Regions from separate parts of the Homo sapiens genome. Here region 1 is linked to region 2. The links are contacts of gene promoters, found by promoter capture Hi-C in human tissues and cell types (Jung and others, 2019). All regions are on one chromosome and are shown on one strand. The core of a region is centred on a gene start or on the middle of the fragment in contact, and the rest is flanking DNA. Distances in the headings are between cores, read along the strand shown. Region 1 has its middle 53 kb from the start of HAND1. Region 2 holds the start of HAND1 (heart and neural crest derivatives expressed 1).

What was found. The method cuts DNA at HindIII sites, captures the fragments that hold promoters and counts their contacts. A contact is called where the count stands out against the background at its distance.
Region 1: a contact is called between a fragment that was not itself captured here and the fragment with the promoter of HAND1 in region 2, in 1 of the 25 tissues and cell types used here (neural progenitor cells).

Annotation. Positions count from the first base shown.
Region 1 is chr5:154,528,852-154,534,425 of GRCh38, forward strand. No RefSeq gene overlaps it. Among named protein-coding and RNA genes, the nearest start is that of HAND1, 53 kb to the left of the region's middle. The HindIII fragment of the contact is 7,848 bases long and covers 1-5,574 here.
Region 2 is chr5:154,473,920-154,479,711 of GRCh38, forward strand. It overlaps HAND1 (heart and neural crest derivatives expressed 1), which reads right to left and starts at 4,308. Exons shown (of 2, transcript NM_004821.3): 1 at 3,547-4,308; 2 at 1,053-1,991. The coding sequence starts at 4,089. The coding sequence ends at 1,887. RefSeq lists enhancers at 1-457, 2,128-2,982, 5,756-5,792 and a silencer at 1,786-1,973. The HindIII fragment of the contact is 8,038 bases long and covers 844-5,792 here.

The sequences.
Region 1 (5,574 bases), core at 1,935-4,434, 54 kb after region 2:
TACCCTAGAACTTAAAGTATATTAAAAAAAAAACTTGGAAAAATAAATAAATAAAGCTTGCCTACCATGAGTCATTAAAATGTCAAAAAAAAACCCACAAAATCCAAAATTTCAGATAGATCAAAAATGTAAATGTAAGAATTAAAATAATACAAAATAATGTAAGATATTCTAGGACACTGTATGTTTAACATAGAGCAGGGGCCAGCAAACTACAGCACATGGGCCCCATCCAGCTGGCTGGCTGACTTAAAAAAAAAAACAGTTTTATTAAAATATAATGCACATACCATATAATTCACTCACTTGAAGTATACAGGTCAATGATTTTTAGTATATTCTTAGATACATGCAACCATCACCAAAGTCAATTGTAGAACATTTTCATCACTTCAGAAAGAAACTCCATACCTCTTAGCTATCAACCCCCATTCCCTATCCTCCCCAGCCCTAGGCAACCACCAATCTACTTTCTGTTTCTATAGATCTGCCAATCCTGGACATTTCATATGAACAGAGTCATATTATAAGTGATCATCTGCAACTGTTCTTTTTTCTCTTAGCATGTTTTCAAGATTCATCCATGTTGTAGCAAGTATCAGAACTTCACTCCTTTTCATGGATGAATAATATTCCATTTTATGGATATCCCACATTTTGCGTATCCATTCATCCATTGATGGACATTTAGTTTGTTTCCTCCTTTTGGCTATTATGATTAGTGCTGCTATGAACATTCAGGTACCAGTATTTGTGTGAACTATGCTGCCATTTTTCTTGGGCATTTACCTAGAAGTAGAATTGCTGCTGCCTATTTTTTTTTTTTTTTTTTTTTTTTGAGACAGAATCTCGCACTGTTGCCTGTGCTGGAGGGCGGTGGCACGATCTCGGCTCACTGCAACCTCCGCCTCCCAGGTTCAAGAGATTCTCCTGCCCCAGCCTCCTGAGTAGCTGCGATTACAGGTACCCGCCACCACACCCAGCTAATTTTTTTGTTTGTATTTTTAGTAGAGATGGGTTTTCACCATGTTGGCCAGGCTGGTCTCAAACTCCTGACCTCTTGACCTGCCTGCCTCAGCCTCCCAAAGTGGTGGGATTAAAGGCATGAGCTACCACGCCCGGCCTTCTGCCTGCCTATTTTTATAAACAATGTTTTATTCAAGCACATTCGTTGGCATATTTATGGCTGCTTTTGTGTCATGATGCCAGAGTTGAGTGGTTATGACAGAGACCATACCATACACCCCTCAAAGCCTGAAATAGTTACTTGCTGGATTTTTATGCAAAAATTTCCCAACTTCTGGTCTAGAGGTTGGGAAGACCTTATTTGTCAAAGAAAAGCGAGATTGGCCTGGTGCAGTGGCTTATGCCTATAATCCCAGCACTTTGGGAGGCTGAGGTGGGCGGATCACCTCAGGTCAGAAGTTTGAGACCAGCCTGGCCAACATGGTGAAACCCCGTCTCCACTAAAAATACAAAATTAACTGGGCGTGGTGGTGGGTGCCTGTAATCCCAGCTACTCAGGAGGCTGAGGCAGGAGAATCTCTTGAATCTGGGAGGTGGAGGTTGCAGTGAACCAAGATCACGCCACTGCACTCCAGCCTGGGCGACAGAGCGAGACTCCATCTCAAAAAAAAAAAAAAAAAAAAAAAAAAAGGCGGTGGCTCACGTTCGTAATCCCAGCACTTTGAAAGGCCGAGGAGGGTGGCAGGAGTTTGAGACCAACCTGGCCAAAATGGCAAAACCCCGTCTCTACTAAAAATACAAAAATGAGCTGGGCATGGTGGCGCATGCCTGTAACCCCAGCTAAACAGGAGGCTGAGGCAGAAGAATCACTTGAACCTGGGAGGCGGAGGTTGTAGCGAGACGAGATCGTGCCACTGCACTCCATCCTGGGAAATAGAGACTCCGTCTCAAAAAAAAAAAAAAAAAAGAAAAGAAAAGAAAAGAAAAGAGAGATTACTTAAAAATTAAATTTGACTATATATTTATAAATCAAATCTTTAGTATGGCAAAAGATACTAAAAACAAACTCAGTGGGCAAACACTAGAGTTTGAAAAATAGCACTGTCTACTAAAGACAGAGAAAAGTTTCCTATCTTATGTCACCGACAGTCCTGGCAAGAGGTAGGTGGCACGATCAACTGGGGTAGTTTAAGGCAATATAATGAAGGGACAATACAGAGGGGTGTGCAGGGTTTAACAAATGCATCCAGGGACCTGCACAACCGCAGAGCTGGTATCAGAAGGAAATAATTTCCACCAAGGCCAAAAGGAGTTGGGATATCAAGGAGTTTTCAGAGCCTGGAAAAGACTATATGGCGGGTGGAGGGCCAGAAGACAGGAGCTGCAGAGGAATGAAGCCGATTTATGATGCCCATCAAGGGCAGGAAAAGGGCTTGGGTGTAAATACCCCAATCTCTCTTTCCTCTTGCCCAGTGATCTTCAGGTGTGCCTCACACTGGCCAAACCCAACCAGAAGCTGGCTATACAGTCCGTATGGGATAAGAGGCACATAGCAGATGGAGAAAGCAGAGCCTGATCTGGAAGGACAGATGGAAGACATCCAGCATGCAGCCTGAAAGGAGAAGCCATCACAACAGAAAAATGGGTAAAGGTGATAACTAGACAGTCAACGGAACGACCAAAAACATGAAAAATATACTCAAATTTATATTAACAGTTATATACTGTTATATTAACAGTCAGCAAAGTGATCAAGTTTGTTTGTTTGTTTGTTTGTTTGTTTGAGACAGAGTCTTGCTCTGTCAGCCAGACTGGAGTGCAGTGGCACAATCTCGGCTCACTGCAACCTCCCCGTCCCAGGCTCAAGCAATTCTCCTGCCTCAGCCTCCCAAGTAGCTGGGTTTACAGGCGTGTGCCATCATGCCTGGCTAATTTTTATATATGTTTTTTAGTAGAAATGGGGTTTCACCATGTTGGCCAGGCTGGTCTTGAACTCCTGACCTCAGGTAATCCACCTGCCTTGGCCTCCCAAAGTGCTGAGATTACAGGCGTGAGCCACCGAGCCCAGCCGTGATCAAGTTTTATATCTGACAGAGCTCTCACACCTATGGCTGGTGGGGAGGTAAAGAAAGTGGTACTCCCACATATTGCTGGTGGAAACGTGCAATGTTACAGACATTTTGGAAAGCAGCCATTCAACTCCTGCAAACCTACCCCACAAAAATAAAGACCCCTTGGCTGAGCGAGGTGGCTCATGCCTGTAATCCCAGCACTTCGGGAGGCTGAGGCAGGCAGATCACCTGAGGTCAGGAGTTCGAGACCAGCCAGACCAACATGGTGAAATCACATGTCTACTAAAAATACAAAAATTAGCCAGGTGTGGTGGTGCAGGCCTGTAATCCCAGCTACTCAGGAGGCTGAGGCAGGAGAATCACTTGAACCCAGGAGGCAGAGGTTGCAGTGAACCAAGATCGTGCCACTGCATTCCAGCCTGGGTGACAGAGTGAGACTCCATCTCAAAAAATTTAAAAAAATATATATATATAAAAAATGCCCCAATAAAGAAAGACTTATGTACAGCAAAATTGCAGTAGATACTGCCATATTCATAGCTGCCCATCATCTTTTGAATAGCCTTTCTTTATAATTGGGGAAATCACCTCCTCAGTTCAAGAATTTCCATTGACATTCCAGCCTCTTTTGCAGCTAGGATGTGGCCATTCCAGCAGGCTCTGCCAATTAGATGCATCCTGTGAGACTTCTCCCATTTTGTGTTAACATGGGACCAGACAAGAGTCCAGTTCTGGTGGCTGCAGCACCAGAGGCAGTTTCCCAGGGACTGCAAGGTGGAATTCCAGGTGTAGAGGTGGCATGGGTGGAGCAGGAGAGAGCTTCGTGAGACCAAAGCCAGTGAGCTTATCAGGCTGTTCTGTGGCATGGTTTAGGGCTTTGGTCCTAGCAACTGAGCCTCCAGGTCAATTAAACAGCATCAGCTTCTGCTGCCTCTAAGAACTCTACCTAATAGTGCCACATTGCTCCCAATGGCAAAAAAATGAAAGCAGACAATGACCATCAACAAAGAGATGACCAGGCTGGGCATGGTGGCTCATGTTTGTAATCCCAGCACTTTGGGAGGCTGGGGTGGGAAGATTGCTTGAATCCAGGAGTTCAAGACCAGCCTGGGCAACATAGTGAGACCCCATCTCTTAAAAAAAAATTAGCCAGGTCTAATGGCACTCTCTTATAGTCCCAGCTACTCAGGAGGCTGAGATGGGAGGATCCCTTGAGCCCAGGAGTTCAAGGCTTCAGTGAGGGGGTGATTGCACAACTGTACTCCAGCCTGGGTGATAGAGTGAGACTCTGTCTCAGAACAACAAAAATAAAAACAAGATGGTGACTGAATACACTGATACATCCACACAGTGAAATATTATGCAGCCATTAAAAAGAAAGAATTAGAGCTATACTCGATGACTTGGAAAGATGTCTATGAAGTGTTGTTGGGTGAAGAAGGTAAGATGCAGAAAACTATAATATTGTTTTAAATGTTTTTATAGGATGGTCCCATTTTAAAAAAAGAAGCAATAATGAGTAAATTCTGTATGTGTAAATGTGCATACAAATATGTGCTCAGGATTGAATGAGTACAGATAAAAACATGGAATGACACACAGCAGGTCGTTGGCATGAGTGTGGGTTGCTGTGTGAGGCGAGGGGGTGGAAAAGGAGGAGCCAAACCAAAAAGAAAAGAAAGAAAACTGTACTGACTAAATAAAGGGTATTTCTGATCATTTTTAGGCATTTGTGTAAAATTGTATTTATGGATATGCATGCATGTATTGTAGGTATATGTATAAACAAATTACACTGAAACTTTAAAAATTTTTATTTTATTTTAATTTATTTATTTTTATTTTATTTTATTATTTTTTTTGAGGCACAGTCTCGCTCTGTTGCCCAGGCTAGAGTGCTGTGGCACAATCTTGGCTCACCGCAACCTCCGCCTCCCAGGTTCAAGCTATTCTCCTGCCTCACCCTCCCGAGTAGTTTAGATTACAGGTGCCCGCCACCACACCCAGCTAGTTTTGTATTCTTAGTAGAGACGGGGTTTCACCATGTTGGCCAGGCTGGTCTCGAACTAACAACCTCAGGTGATCTGCCTGCCTCAGCCTCCCAAAGTGCTGGGATTACAGGCGTGAGCCACCGTGCCCAGCCTAATTTTTATTTTTTAGGGACAGGGTCTCACTCTGTTGCCCAGGCTGGAGTACAGTGACCATAGCTCACTACAGCCTCGAACTTCTGTGCTCAAGCCATCTTCCTCCTCAGCCTCCAGAATAGCTGGTACTACAGGCGCAAGCCACTGTCCCCAGCTGAAAATATTTTCAGCCAAAAAGTCATTGGCTACAGTACTGAGGTCAGAGTGGTGACAGGGAGACCAGTTGGGAAGTTATGGTGTTTACACAGGCAAGAGGGAATGGTGGCTTGGATTGGGCTGGTGGTAGTAGCATGGAGAGAAAATTATGGATTTGAGAAACACTCCACAGATAAAAATGGTCAGGATAGGGAATGGGTCGGTTTGCGGGCAGTGGGAGGAAGGGAAGAATCAAA
Region 2 (5,792 bases), core at 3,058-5,557:
GCCTCACGGGTCTCCCCTCCTCCTTCGCAGTGAGCGCCGCAGACCCTCAGGCGCTGCAGAGCGTGCGCTCCGTGGGGCAACCATGGGAGCTGTTGGGAGACACAGAAGTGCTTAGCGCAGTGCCTAGCACACAGTTGCACGCAACCAAAGTATTCGTACATTATTATTCCTGGAAGTATAAACCACTGCGTTTGCCCGCCCCAGTTTAGCCCAATACGCATCCAAGATCCTTGGCAAATGCACCGAATTTATACCCACCACACCTAGTCATGGGTGCGCATGAGAGAACACAAAGACTGGCTCTCCTGCACAAGTGCCCGAATGAGCACGCATACACACATACACCCCATCCCTTTGCACAAATCCATATGCTCTCACAACCTTCTGTCGAGTGCTTCGTTGCTAAAGAGAAACCTAAATACCTCAATTTAACATATAAGCACTCACAAGCTTATTTTACTCAGGTATAAAATAATAATAGCTGCTGTGACTTGTCAAGTCCTTACTGTGTGCTTGGAGCTGTACTAAGCAGACCCTTGTTGGCCCCTGCACAGCCTCAGGCTCCGTATGAGTTGCTGCACTGTCACATGTACATCTATATGTTGAGAATTTCACATACATGAACATATTCCCCACCAACACCCCCTCTCCTGAGCTACCCTGCCCCAGGGATAGGATTCACCTGTGTGCTAGGCCCCCTTCCCTCCCAATAAACACTCCAAACCACTCTTTGCAGACACCAGTGGGCATACTAACCTCCAGACAAGCACGAATACTCAACGCACAAAAACCCGAGCCCAGGCCCTCTGAGACTAATTCGTTTCCGTTTTTGTTCTTCCCCGTTCCCATAAGTTACCCCCACCTCCCGTTCTAGTCTAAAGAGAACTTTGCTCTTGTTCTTGAAATACATTCTTTATCTGCCGGCTTCCCTTGATTTCAAGTTTGGTTTCGTGTTTATCAAAAGAAGAGGAGCAGGAACAGAGGCTTTCCACCTAGCAGAAGCCATGGGAGTCGGTGAGGGACCCCGGTTGAGACATGACACAGGCTTCAGATGATTTCAGAAAATGTTTTATTAATCAAGAGCATAGACACTGCTTTGGCGAAGGGAGGGGGGCTGTGAGTGGTCACACAGACTTGAGGTAGAAAAGGGTTGGGGATGGCAGGATGAACAAACACCTGAGCACAACAGGCATGGTAGGTAGTTTAAATACATAAAAACTTTCCAACACAGGGAAAGCTTTTATTTAGATAGAAACAAAAAGGAAGGAAAAGAAGGAAGAAAAGAGAGAGACAGAGAAAGAGAGAAAGTGTTTCCCTTGGAACTAAACAGGAAGTGCAGCGACAAAAAGAAAAATAAAATAAAACCACCACGATTCGAAGAACAAAGGGCAGCCTTTCATCTTCCTGCGTCTGGTTCTCTTTCTCAGGCAGAAAAGAATTGATTCCTTATTGCATTTTAATTAGAGAAGACGGCGTCGGGGCGGATCATATGGAGGGACAAGAGAGAAAGAGCCAGATAGGGAAATGGAGATAGGGCTGAGGTTCTAAATTCGCTCCAAAAGGGTGGAAGAGTGCGTCTTTGAGCCCTTGGGTTCGACAGTCCCTCCTTCTTGCATGTTGCCGCCAAGGGCCGCCCTCGGTTGGGCTGGGGGTGGATATATATATATTTCTCTTTCTCTTAATGTATTAAAAAAAATCAAAGGACATTGCACGTGCGATCCAAGTGTGTGGTTGCAGCCGACGACCTGCCGGCGCTCAGCAGAAGCTCCGCGGGATGCGTAGCACCAGTCGCCGGAGCCCAGAGCCTGGCGTTCGCCGCTGCCTTCCTCTCCTCCCGGGGCTTCAGGAGTGGCTGGCCTGGCCAGGTCCTCGGCGCGGGCCTCGGCTCACTGGTTTAACTCCAGCGCCCAGACTTGCTGCGGCCAGCCGGTGCGTCCTTTAATCCTCTTCTCGACTGGGCCCAGGGCAGGAGGAAAACCTTCGTGCTGCTGCTGCCAAAGGACACACAGAAGAAAAGAGGCGGGAGAGACAGGTTTTAATTTTTCTGCTCCGATCGCCCGGCATGGGGTAAGATGAGGAGGAGGGGAAGGTGTCGGGAGCAGTAACTGGGAGTCTTTAAATAAGTGACGGATTTCTGTTTGCGAAATAGGCAAACAGGCTCGTAAATTTGCCTTTATGCGCGGAGTTCCTGGGACCCGGGATGGGCTGGGCAGCTTCGGGAGGTTTGGTAAGGAAAATGTTCTGCGTCTGGTGAAACTGACGCGCGTTGATTTGGCTTTAGGACACCTAAGGGAGATCCCAGGATATTGGAAGGGAGGGGTGGAAATCCACGGTTCTCCCGCTCTCGCTGCACCCCACACACTTCCGCCAGCCTCCCAACCTGGTTTAAACATCAGGGCTTGGATGCAGGCTTGGGGCCCCCTAAGCCGGAGCTGGGAGCCTCAGATACGGAGGTAAAAGAGCGGGGAGTCGAGCTGGCCTAGCGTCCTCCTTCCCGCTCTTTCAGCAGGAACCAAGCGGTGCTACTTGAAGGAGGCGGCGACGCGTGGGGGCCGGGATCCGCCCAATAACAACTTCTTTCGAGGCGCCGCACCTCGAAAGAAGCCGGCCTGCACCATCCCCAGTCCGGGGCAGCCGTTTAGAGACTCGATGCCTATTTATCTTTCCCTCGTCCCTGGATGAGCTTTCGTCAGTTTACCACAGGCCCCCGCAGGTTGGATAAACCAGGTGGGGCGCTTCAGCTGGCTCCACTCCGCTACGGCCTTAAGCCCCCCAACCTAGAGAAACTGATTGGCCAGCCTGAAAACCCAGCGCTCAGAAGCCCCCAGCCCCGGACAGCCAGACCGAGTGCCAGGAAGTGTCACCCTAACCGGAGAGGATCAAGAAGGCCAAGACGAGACTGCGCTCTCCAAAGCTAAAAGAAGTGGCTCTTATTTACATGCAAAGCCACTGAAGTCGTCCTCAGAACCAGTCCATGGGGAGAACCAGAACTGGCCCTGGACTGAGTAGAAGACCCGATCTGTTTTACCTCACCTCCACCCTGGACTCCTCAGATAGGTGCTTTTCCTGCCCCGACCCACTCTGGGCCCTCAGTTTCCCTATTTATACAATGATGGAAGTAGACTAGCCGGTCCAGCAAAGGCCCTTTGAAAACAGGAACCGAGCCCGGGCACATAAATTCAAACTCAAAGTAAAGAACTTTAACACATATTCTTAACCTGGCTTCCAGGAGAGCCCAGGAATGAATCAGGACTTCTCCAAATTGGAAGCAAAACCTGTGGTGTGTGCATTTTTGGAGGGTCCGAGGCTCCAAACAGATTATTCACTCAGTATTACAAACACTCTCCCGTATTACAAATGAATTCTATGACGAATCTGCCTCCCTCCATGCACAGGATCGCACGCTGTGACCAACCATCTCAGAACTCTTCCCAACCTTTCCAAATCGGACACAGGACAACACAGCCTCCTTCGACTACCTGCATGGCCTGAGGCTGCTCACCGCTCCTGCACCCTTGGCTGGAGCATGCAAGCCCCAGGACTCACCAGCTCCCTTTTCCGCTTGCTCTCACGGCCGCCATCCGCCTTCTTGAGTTCAGCCTTGAAGGCCTCGGGATCGCCAGACTGTGCATCCTTGGCCAGCACGTCCATCAGGTAGGCGATGTAGCTGGTGGCTAGGCGCAGAGTCTTGATCTTGGAGAGCTTGGTGTCGGCCGGCACGTTGGGGATGCACTCGCGCAACTCCGCGAATGCGCTGTTAATGCTCTCAGTGCGTCTCCGCTCCTTCTTGGGTCCTGAGCCTTTCCGCCGGCCAAGACGGCCGCCAAGCGCCTCCAGCCGCCCGGGGCTCTGCCCAGGCCTGGCGTCAGGACCATAGGCGGTGGCGGCTGCAGCGGCCGCGGGCGGCGGCCCGCCCGCAGGGAAGTCCGGGGCAGCGTCAGCCGGGCTCAGCAGCCAGCTCTGGAAGTAGGGCCTTTCCTGATGACAGCGCGAGGCCGGACCGAAGAGGAAGGGTTCGTGGAGCATGGGGTGCGCAGGGTGCGGGTGGTGATGGTGGTGATGGTGTGCGTAGCTGCCCACGAGGTTCATGTTGGAGCGGCTACTGGCCTGCGCCGCCAGCCCTATTAACGCCGCTCCATGCGCCCCAGAGACTGCCGGGGGCCACCTGTGGGCTCTGGAGCCACTACTGGGCGCCGGCTTTGGGAGAGTCCGGGCAAGGCTGAAAATGAGACGCGCAGCCCACTGTCTTCTTACCGGTTTCTGCCGCGGGCGAGGTCGCCGAAGCCCAAAGACCTGTTTAACCCTTCTGCGGACTCCCCTGCGGATCTGGCTTATATAAGACCGCGGCTTTGATGTCAACCTCTCCCGGGAGCCAATGGCAGGGGGGCGGGGATAAGGAAAAGGGGGAGTGGCTATCCCAGGTTTTACGCTCAGCCCGCGCCACTCTAGTCCGCCAGCAGGGACTGGGAACCGGCCCCGCCTCTGCCCCTCCCACTCAGCTCCCTGCTCTGCGGGCTTAGGGGGGCGGGCTGCTGGGGGTGTTGAGGGGGCGGGCACGGGGACTACGTACTTGAGGCACAGGACGGCCAACGCCCTGGACTGTTGCTGCCACCCCCTCCCCACGGATCCAAGGAAAGGAATCCAGAATCACCAAGCGAAAAGAAGGCCTACACCTAGAGCCCGCCTTTTGATTTTACAGACAAGGAAACTGAGGCCCAGGGAAAGAAAGGTTCTTGTTTCTAGACTGTCTAGAAGTCTAAATAGGAATTCCAGCAGTTCCCAGTCCCGAGCTCCAACTGCTCTGCTCGGCGTCAGAGCTAGAAGATGAGAGGGCGCTGCTGAAGACAGGATAGGCCGCTAACGTTCTTCCCTAACACCTTCCAGCCCTCCGCCCCCACCCCCACCCCTTAGTCATCGGCCCTTTCTGGAGAGACTGGGAGCCGCTTGTGCACGGGGTCGTTACCAGCCCGCCAATTCTGACCCAGCCTCAGGCAGACGGGCACGCAGCTACTGACCAGCGAAGAAGCCTTTCGGAGGCAGGGGTAGGGGTGGGGCGGGAAGGAGGAGGCGGACTCCAGGCCCACGGGCATCGACGGGTTTGTTCCCGGCTTGAGGGTCTGAGATCCACTCCGGCCTCCCGGGTGCCTGATCCATTCCGAAGGCCAGCCCGGCTGGCGCAGAGACAGTCTGGCGTCCGCCTTGGGCCCGGGGCATCTGGCCAGCAGGTCTCCTCTGGTCTGTCCGCAGGACTCGCACCGAGACCTGGGAGCGCGGCTACGTCGGGCCGCTCTACCCAGATCATCACTCCTTAAGAATCTTTGGTTCTTTAAAGACACCGGCCCCGAAGCTCACACCTCGAGACACCAGCATTCGGCGTTAGACACACGCAGAGGGGACCAAGACTGCACAGCATCCGCGAGGCTCGCACAGGCAAACGCGACGTCCGGCATCTCTCACGCATCAGCGCAGAGGCGCGACTCGGCTGCACGACCCTCCGAGATTTCACCCCGGGGGTAGGGCCATTCCCTGCCAGCCGGACTCTCTCCACTGTGGGCTTTCCCCAGGCTCGCGTTGGAATCTGGGAATCCCGGAGTGGTGACGCTTCAAGCTGGGGACTCTCGGTCTTACCTCCCGCTGTGGTTCCTTTCTTGGCCGATGTCCACCTACCTGGGTCCCTCATTCTCTCAACCTTTCTCAGCTCAACGCCCCCTCCCTCGGTGTGGTAGAGGGAGTGTGCCTCTCTTCAAAGCAAAGTCGAGGGGAGGGGGAAAGGAGAAGTTAATGTGAGTGCT